3 separate regions of the Homo sapiens genome follow, and all the other regions are linked to region 2. Evidence: promoter capture Hi-C in 16 types of primary human blood cells and fetal thymus (Javierre and others, 2016). All regions are on one chromosome and are shown on one strand. The core of a region is centred on a gene start or on the middle of the fragment in contact, and the rest is flanking DNA. Distances in the headings are between cores, read along the strand shown.

Region 1 (2,731 bases), core at 138-2,637, about 25 Mb before region 2:
TAAAAATGCCCTGGCTTTTACTGTTCCAGTCTTCTTTCTACTCTAATTGTCTTTTGCAAGTCGGACACATTGGCCTTTTATCTTTCTCCATAAATATGTTTTAAATGTGACCAATCAGCTGTACTGTTTCAACTGGGCCCAAGATCTGGACACAGAAACTTAGTATTACTGAAACCTCTTATTCGAAAAGCAGCTGGCATATTGCAGATGCATAACAAGTTATCCTAGAACAGGCGTTTTGAAAAATCCTACAAATCGTCCTTGTACATACTGATGTCACTACATGATGCAAGCCCAGACATAAAATCTTCCACCCTAAGTTTTGCAGAAACATCCACACATCACCTGTGCAACTGTAAGCTGTTCCATTTTATGGAAACCCTGCGAAATGCATCACTGTTTACCCACATCTCAACTTTTTTTTTTTTTTTTTTTTTGGCTCAACTACAGATTCCCAAATACAGGTATATACTGGTAGAATCATAACAGGCTTAAAACTTCAATGGTAGGAATAGTTGGCTCATGCAGCGTGCAAGAAGCGCTCATATGAGCCAAAAAAAAAAAAAAAAAAAAAAGGAATTCTACCAGCAATGGAAAACTCAAGATTCCAAAGCTTTACCTAGAGTTTAGGTACTGGGAACATTCCATCTCCGCACCTATTCCATCCCTTGGCCCTTCGCTGACCCATAACAGAGATTCCAACTATAACCCCCGCAAAAGCAGAGGTCCCAGGAAGAAAGGAAAGAAAGCGTTTTTTTGTTTGTTTGTTTGTTTGTTTTTGTCCTTTTTTCCTTCCTTTCAAATCATCCTCGTACCTCCGGCTTGCCCCACCTGGCTCACCTCCCAGGAGCCACACATGCAGGTAAGAGCCTCCCGTTCAACGTGCAGGGCCGAGAGGCCGGCGGGGACCGGAGAACCTCTTACCTTCGTATATCACAGCCGCGTCCTCTCGGCTGGAGAAAAAAAGCCTCGAGGCCCCGGCGCGCAGAGGAGAAGCGCGTCCTCCGTGCCGCTCCGGGGGGCTACCTCAGCGCCCCCCGAGCAGCCGCCGCCGCAGCGGTCGCGCCACGACCCGGAGCCGCCAGCACCACCTCATGCTGCTGGGCAGCCGCGGGCCGGCGCCGCTGGGGAGGTGGCAGGGAGGCGGGCAGCCGGCGACCTCTCCTACCTCCCTGCAGGGATGAGATAATCCACACCCCCAAAAGTGCGTGGGGGAGGGGGCCTGGCCCCAATCCTCCGACCCCGCGGCCAAAGCCAAGTCTCTTTCCTCTCCCGCTCAGGCCCAATTCCGGCCCCTGGGACCCAGGAGTCCTGAGAGAACAATGTTGGTGGTGGGGCGCGAGGAGCGGAAAAGCGCACTGCGCGGCGTGAGCTGGCGGGTAATCCTGGGCAGCGTTTGTGTGTGAGAGTGCAAGAGGAGCTCAGTCACCCCCCTCCTTCTCCACCTCCTCTTCCTCCCCCTCCTCCTCCTCTATCTCTTCCTCCTCCCTCAAGCACACCCCCTCTCCTAGGCCGCAGCATAGCAACCGAACATGGCGGCTGCGCAGGCGCCGCCAGTCAGTGGCCAGGAGCGGCGGCGGCAGCAACAGGAGGCGATCTCGCGAGAGGCGAGGCCAAAACCCTGCCTCGCTAGCGCAGGGAGAAGTCGCACCAGTCGGAGCGCAGAGGGACACGCAGGTGCGAGAGAGAGCGGCCTAGGAGGATTGGGAGGGCGGATTGGAGGGGGGAGGCGGAGCGCTGTGGCCCCCGCCCCGCAGCCGCGTCGCGATTGGTTGTTTGGACTGCGACCCCTGCTGCACCCACTGACCGCAGGGACCGGATAGTGGGCAAGAAGCGTGTGTTAAAAGGGAAAACCAGACCAGTTGGCAGCAGGTCGCCCCAACCTCAGTGCTCCTGGAGGATATAGGTTTTGGGGGGCAGTTTTGAATCATTTCCTCTCCTAAACGTAGGCTCCAAAACAAAGCCTCAGCAACCAACCTGCGTTTATAAAACAAACGTTCGGGGGCTCCTTCTGTGTGCCTGGAACGGTGTGCTTTTTAAAATTTAATTCCTTCTAATAACATGAATTTGGTGTTATCACGCCAGGGTTTTTAGCCAGGTGCATTATAATATTTTATTGGTGATACAAACTTATTGGTAATACCACAGTTGCCTACTGGCGAATGATCTCAGCTGAAATGGAGGAAGAAGGGATTTGGGGACCGCCACACTTCCTTTTTGCCCAATTTTTGTTAGTGCCCTTTTCTGTCGCCAGGCGCCTTCTTTGTCCTTCCTTGCTCTTAGCTTGAGCATCCTATCAGAGCCTACCTTTATAAAGACGATCTTTCAAAAACCACTTTCCCAAGCCGACAAAATGACTACAAATCAGGGGAATGTGAACAAATCTGGAAAAGACAGAAATTTCTATTGACTCTCTTCTCCCTCACACCTGTTAGTTTTTCCATTTGAAAAAGGCAACTTGTCAATCCATGTTTCCAGCTTTACTTCCTTCACTTGCTTTTCTTCCCAGATCTCTGTTGTAGCCAGTGCTCATTCATTCCTCCCTAAATATGCATTCCTGCCTCTGACTCTCCATTTTGTCTTTGATCATGCCATTCCCTCTGCTAAAATGCTCTTCACCTCATTGTCATCTGTCAACATCCAGTCATCCTCCAACCAAAGATCATATGAGACTTCCACCAGAAATTGAATGTTTCATATAAATAGAATCATACAATATGTAATTTTTGTT
Region 2 (2,854 bases), core at 293-2,792:
GTATTTTTTTAGTAGAGACGGGGTTTCACCGTGTTAGCCAGGATGGTCTCGATCTCCTGACCTCGTGATCCGCCCGCCTCAGACTCCCAAAGTGCTGGGACTTACAGGCGTGAGCCACTGTGCCCGGCCATATTATCTATTTCTCTGTAGCTTTTCACTGTTCGGACAAGCTTCTGCTTATTCAAGTGGTTACTGTAACTGCTATGATACTGCACTAGCTTTTCTTCCAACCACTAAAATTGCTGTCTTTCTGTGACTCTTTTTCCCCACTTTTGCCCTGGAAACATGGATGCTGCCCATAGCTCAGTCTTTGTACTTTCTTCGTTTTTGCCATCCCTCAGAAAGTCCATCCACATTCAGGGCTCCATTTTCAAACTCTACAGATGTCCATGTCCTGTAATTGTATTGTAATTTTACAATACAACTGTATTGCATTCTTCCAGACTCATCCTGCATTTCCAAATGACTGCAAACCTTAAATCAGGCGTTCCACCATCACCTCAAAACTATCTTCCTTTAGGCAATTCCACACATCAACGCCTCTTCCTGGCTTTACATTTGTATCAGATGTTTTATTGTTCTCCCAGGTGTCCCAAATTCAAACTCTTACCTCACTCTCTTTCCTCCCAAATCTAGTCACCAGGCCCTTTTGACTCTTCTTTTGCAGTGTCATCTGTATCCTTCCCTTTCACTACCACCACCATAATTCAAGTCCACAACATCTTACTCCAAAACTACCATACATTCCTAAGTAGCTCTCTGCTACTGGTCCTTTCCCCTCTCTAGTCCTGAATGTGACCTCTAGAATAACTGTCTCCAAATAGTTTCATTCGTGTCAGTCCCTGGATCACACCTATATAAGCCACCTTGCCTACTGAGTCTTGTCCTGATTCTCTGAGTCCCGGGCCCTGGCTCCCAGCGTACCTTTTCTTCAACCTTGTCTACCACTGTTCCTGCATTTCTGTAAAAACTATCTCCAGCTCAAATCTGCCTAACGCTTAGCTGCTTCTTTCGTGGTTTTTGTTTTGTTGTTGTTGTTTTTCTTTCACGTCAAATCCCACCTCCTCCATGAAGCCCTCCAGCACTCGTGCGGAGGCCCAGGGCAGGGAGCTAAATGAGGCAATCTGAGGCGCTGTCTGGCAAAGACGGAGCGGCAGCATCCTAGATTTGGTGTCAATTCCACCCACGTTCATTAAGCACCCATTATGGGAAGAAGAAACGGGAGAGGCGGAGGAAGACTCCAAACCTCCAACCTTAAAGTCCGGGACCGACATACAATGGGTGCCCAGACCCCACGGGACACACGCACACACGGGGGTGGATGCACAACTTTCCGTCCGCACCGAGACGTCGCGACACACGCTCTGCAGGCTGGCCTCGCCCGTGTCACCCCGTTTTGCTCCCACAGCACCTCCCCAAAGTTCTCATGTCCCCTCTCTCGGCTGCTGCGCTCACTCCGCTCCTTGAAGACACACACCCACAACCCTCACCTCCGGCACAGAGTGCTCGGGACCCGGGAAGACGGCGCCTCTTCAGGTCGGGAAACCAACGCGCCTGCGCACAGGGTCCTGGCGACTGCGCTCCCAATCAATGCGGGGCCTTCGCAAGGACTTCATCTCCCAGAAGTCTCGGCGTCCGGTGCGCTTTAATATGACGTCCGAAAATGTGTGCAAACGCCGGCTTCCCGTGGCTGAACAGGATCCAAAATGGCAGCGCTGTCGCCTTAGCTGGGAGAGCGAGCCGTTGTGGCTGTTTGGGAGACTTATGGTCACCCTGAAGTACTGCCTGCCTCTAGTGTCGCGTCCCTCCAGTATCCGATGGGAGCGCCGTCCGCAGGGAATGTGTCTCTCTGATCATGGTGCCTCGTGTCCAGCTCTGGGGAAGACCGAGACGAAATCGAGTCAGCTGGCGTTGGGAGAGGGCTTATTTCCGCTTCCGCTTGCCCACTTTCAGGAATTTGATTCTGAGAGCAGGGCTGCGGTTCCAGGCAGGGTTTGTACACATATTTGCGTTGGAAGGAGAGAGGAGCCTAGGACACATATGTATTAACTGTGCAGCTGGTCCGACTCCCGACAGCTTCAGCGCACACCAGCCAGCCTTGGAGTTGCTGGAACGGCCCTGGCTGCAAGCTGGAATCACCCGGAGAGCTTTCGACATTGATGCCTGAGGCCCAGCTGTGGAGCGACAGTTTGAAAAGAGCTGCAGGTGACTCTAATGTGCAGCTAAAGCTAGGAACCACTGAGCTACATCTCAGGGAAGACTGAAAATTACAAAGAATATGATAAAATCTTACTTCAGGAACAAAGCTACGTTTTTCCAGGTTAATTTATTAGTGGTTTGGGTTTTTTTTAAGTTTTTGTGGGTACACAGTAGGTGTGAACATTTATGGGCCACCTGAGATATTTTGACACAGGCATGCAATAAGTAATAATCTCATCAGGACAAATGGGATATCCATCACCTCAAGCATTTGTCCTTTGTGTTACAAACGATCCAGTTATATTCTTTTAGTTACTTTAAAATATACAATATTATTGGCTGTAATTACTCTGATGTGCTATCAAATACTAGTTATACTATTTCTTATTCTATTTTTTGTACCCATTAACTATCCCCACTTCCCCACCCCGCCAACCCTTCCCAGTCTGTTAACCATCCTTCTACTCTCCATCTCCATAAGACTACACTTTCATTCAAAAAATCCAAATTGCTCACCATAAGCAAGGCACAGTTACAAATATGAGTAAGTTACTGCCCCAAATGAACTCTTGGTCCAATGGAAAAAATCAGAATGTAAAATCACAATAGAGGCAGTATGTTCTATAATTATGTCACATTCAACATACTATGAGAG
Region 3 (2,713 bases), core at 45-2,544, about 77 Mb after region 2:
AGAAATAAAAAGTGACTTTGATGTAAAGAATTCCATTACCGGAGGCCAGAATTTCAACATCAATTTATTTGGAGGTGGAGTGAGGTGGCAGTCAATGCATTATTTTCCCCACACAGAAGAGAAGATTTTGGAGTATGAAAAGTAGGTTACTTGTTAGGTCAGCATATTCATGGGAAGGGTTGTGTAAAGACTGAAGCGGGAGTGTGGGGTTGAGAAGGGCGCTGAAACCTAAGCCAAGGAAGTTAAGACTTCATTACTTCTGACGTTTATTTAGGGGGTTTACACTCTAGGTTACCGTGGGGGAAAGACTGATTGTAAATAACTACAATACCTTAAAGTAATTACTATAACAGAACTATATCCGAAATACAAGGTTAACACGGAAAAGGGAACACCCAACTGTGCCTATGGGGACCAGGGAGGGCTCTCCCGGGATGGCTTTGAGCGAGGCGTGGGAATTATCCCCATCGCATGCCCGGGGGAAGCACAGCGGGACCCAGCAGCTTCGGCCAAGCGCAAGCGGCCGGAGAACGCGCAGCTTTCCCGAGGCGGGGTGACGCAGGGCCCTCGCGAGTGGAAAACAGGGGCCAAGTCGCGGCCTGGCGGCTCGGTTCGGACTTCCTACTTTATTCAAAGGGAGTCATTGAAGGCGTTTTCGGAGGAGCAGCGAACAAAGAGCTCGTCCGTAAGCCAGATGGTCAAAGGAATCAGTGGGAGGACCCGGGCGGCGCCGTCTCTCCACGTCCCGCGGGACTTACCCGGACAACCCTTCCTCCTTGGCTCTGGAAGAAGCCCCTTCGTCATTTACCAGTTTGGCCTGAATCCTAACTACTGTGCCTCCAAATTTCTGAATTTTCTCAAAAGGAAAAAAAAAAAGGAAAGTCCTCTTTCTTTACCCAAGCAAAGACTAGCTCCCCGGGCTCAACCGCCAGGCCCAGGAGCACCAGGAAGCGTTTCGAATCCAGCGCCGGGCCCGCGCGGCCCCGCCTCTTCCGGGAAGTGACTGACCCCTTTCCCCCAATGGGGCCCGCTCGGCTTTCCCTTGCCGGCTCCCAGCCGGCCTAGCGGACGCATGCGTAGACCAGCTGCCGGGGGCGCTCAATTATCTTTCCCTTTTACTTAGGCAAATCACTCACCTCCCCCGAGTCCGGTCACTGCGGAGCCGCCCGTGCCTACCAGCTTCCCCCACCCGCTAAGGGGCACTTCCGGCCTCTCAGACTCCGGCGGCGCGAAACCCCGCAACTGCGCAGGCGCGGGCGGAGCCCGAAGGGAGGGAGGGCGGGGCGCAGGCGCGGTTAGTACCGCGGTGGGCGCCGGGGCTCCCGGGAATCTACCTTCTCCTGCGGCCGGCACGCGGTTCCCAGGGGGCCAGCGGCGGTCAGCCGAGGTCGAGACGCCCGCAGGGTGGCCTTAGCGGCCGGTCGTACCACGGCAGCCCCGCCGATCAGGTTCCTTTGGGAGACTTCGACTTGTTGGCGGTAGGGTGAAGGCGCGCGCTGTCGCTTTCCCTTGCTCCGGGGTTCATCCTCCGCCCGCTGCCCCCTTGGCTGGCGACCCCCAGCCACCCGGGAGAGGCAGGGTCAGCTGAGCTGCGGCGGTGTTCATGGTCGTCCTTGCGGGCCCGGGCGGGAGATGTCCGTTCCTCGGGCGGGTCGGGCGGCCGGCGGCACCTTCGCGCGCTCTCCGAGGCGGCACCGGTCTCCTGAGCCGCGGGAAACCTGGCGTCTGCTCCGGGCCGTCCCCTCCCAGGCGGCCGTCCCCTCCCAGGCGGCCGTCCCCAGACTCTCCCGGGCTGTGGCGAATAACTGTAAAGCGGGGAGAGGTCTGGGGAAAGCTGGGGTAGGGAGTGGCTCTTAGCATGAGTCTGATGATATCTCGCAGGCGGCAACTGGTGTGTTTAAAGGGTGTATGCAAAGATCACTGAAATCGGATTTGTCATTAAAGCCCAGTTTTACGAAAATGCAAATTGTATTACCTAGAAAAATTAACATGTGTTCAAAGGTTTACTGATGGCATTTCTCTGCCCTCATTTCTTACAGAAATGAACCGGAGAAGAATCCCAATTGGGAATTGCGGAAAACAGGACTCTAGGGTAGAGAAAGGTTGTAGAACCAATAGGGTTTGAGGTAATACTGTGAAAATTCTTAGAGCAATCATTTGGTGTTTGAGCCCTCAAGACAGAAGTTTTGTGAGCGCTTATTACTCTGCATATGTCACGAGTAGTAGATTAAAAGCCAGTGTTTTAAAGGCAAACTTCTCAGTAATATATATTCAAAGGAAAAAAGAAAAACCCAAATCTCCTGACTTTTATATGGTTGCAGTGTGATCTTTTAACATGTACAATAGTATATACAGTGGCATGCAGTTTGTTCCATGGGTGTGTGGGTAGAGAGGGAACATATTAGAACTTCTATTTAGATTTATTTCATTTGATTTCTACGTGAAACATAGGGTATTAATTTTATGTTGGAACATGTATTTCAAATTTCTTTTGCTTAATGGGTGCAAGTACAAAACGTTTGGAGGCCACTAGTATATTGCCTAAAAGCGTGTATTTATATCACAAAAAGCCAGAATTGTGTGACTCTGAGCAGGTTGGTACCACCTCTTTAAGTTTCAGTTCTTCTTATGCAAGTTGGAAGAAATAATACAGTTATCAGTGCATCCTCTGTATCCGTGGACTCAATCAAGGGACTGAAAATATTTCAGAGGA

What was found. The method cuts DNA at HindIII sites, captures the fragments that hold promoters and counts their contacts. A CHiCAGO score of 5 or more calls a contact.
Region 1: the fragment with the promoter of PTPN4 here is called in contact with the fragment with the promoter of ZNF2 in region 2 in 1 of 17 cell types (total B cells); the score reaches 7.9 in total B cells.
Region 3: the fragment with the promoter of SMC6 here is called in contact with the fragment with the promoter of ZNF2 in region 2 in 1 of 17 cell types (naive CD8 T cells); the score reaches 8.1 in naive CD8 T cells.

The regions. Positions count from the first base shown.
Region 1 is chr2:119,758,578-119,761,308 of GRCh38, reverse strand. It overlaps PTPN4 (protein tyrosine phosphatase non-receptor type 4), which reads right to left and starts at 1,387. Exons shown (of 27, transcript NM_002830.4): 1 at 925-1,387. LOC101927764 (a long non-coding RNA gene) reads left to right here and starts at 1,595. Exons shown (of 4, transcript XR_007087215.1): 1 at 1,595-1,677. RefSeq lists enhancers at 531-1,155, 1,426-1,685, 1,402-1,696 and silencers at 886-1,185, 1,736-1,845. The HindIII fragment of the contact is 4,728 bases long and covers 616-2,731 here.
Region 2 is chr2:95,164,497-95,167,350 of GRCh38, reverse strand. It overlaps ZNF2 (zinc finger protein 2), which reads right to left and starts at 1,542. Exons shown (of 5, transcript NM_021088.4): 1 at 1,491-1,542. RefSeq lists enhancers at 1,426-1,855, 1,283-1,917, 1,918-2,554. The HindIII fragment of the contact is 3,796 bases long and covers 173-2,854 here.
Region 3 is chr2:17,752,391-17,755,103 of GRCh38, reverse strand. SMC6 (structural maintenance of chromosomes 6) reads left to right here and starts at 1,294. Exons shown (of 28, transcript NM_001142286.2): 1 at 1,294-1,478; 2 at 2,040-2,126. It overlaps GEN1 (GEN1 Holliday junction 5' flap endonuclease), which reads right to left and starts at 966. Exons shown (of 14, transcript NM_001130009.3): 1 at 759-966. RefSeq lists silencers at 1,179-1,318, 1,459-1,818. The HindIII fragment of the contact is 9,742 bases long and covers 1-2,713 here.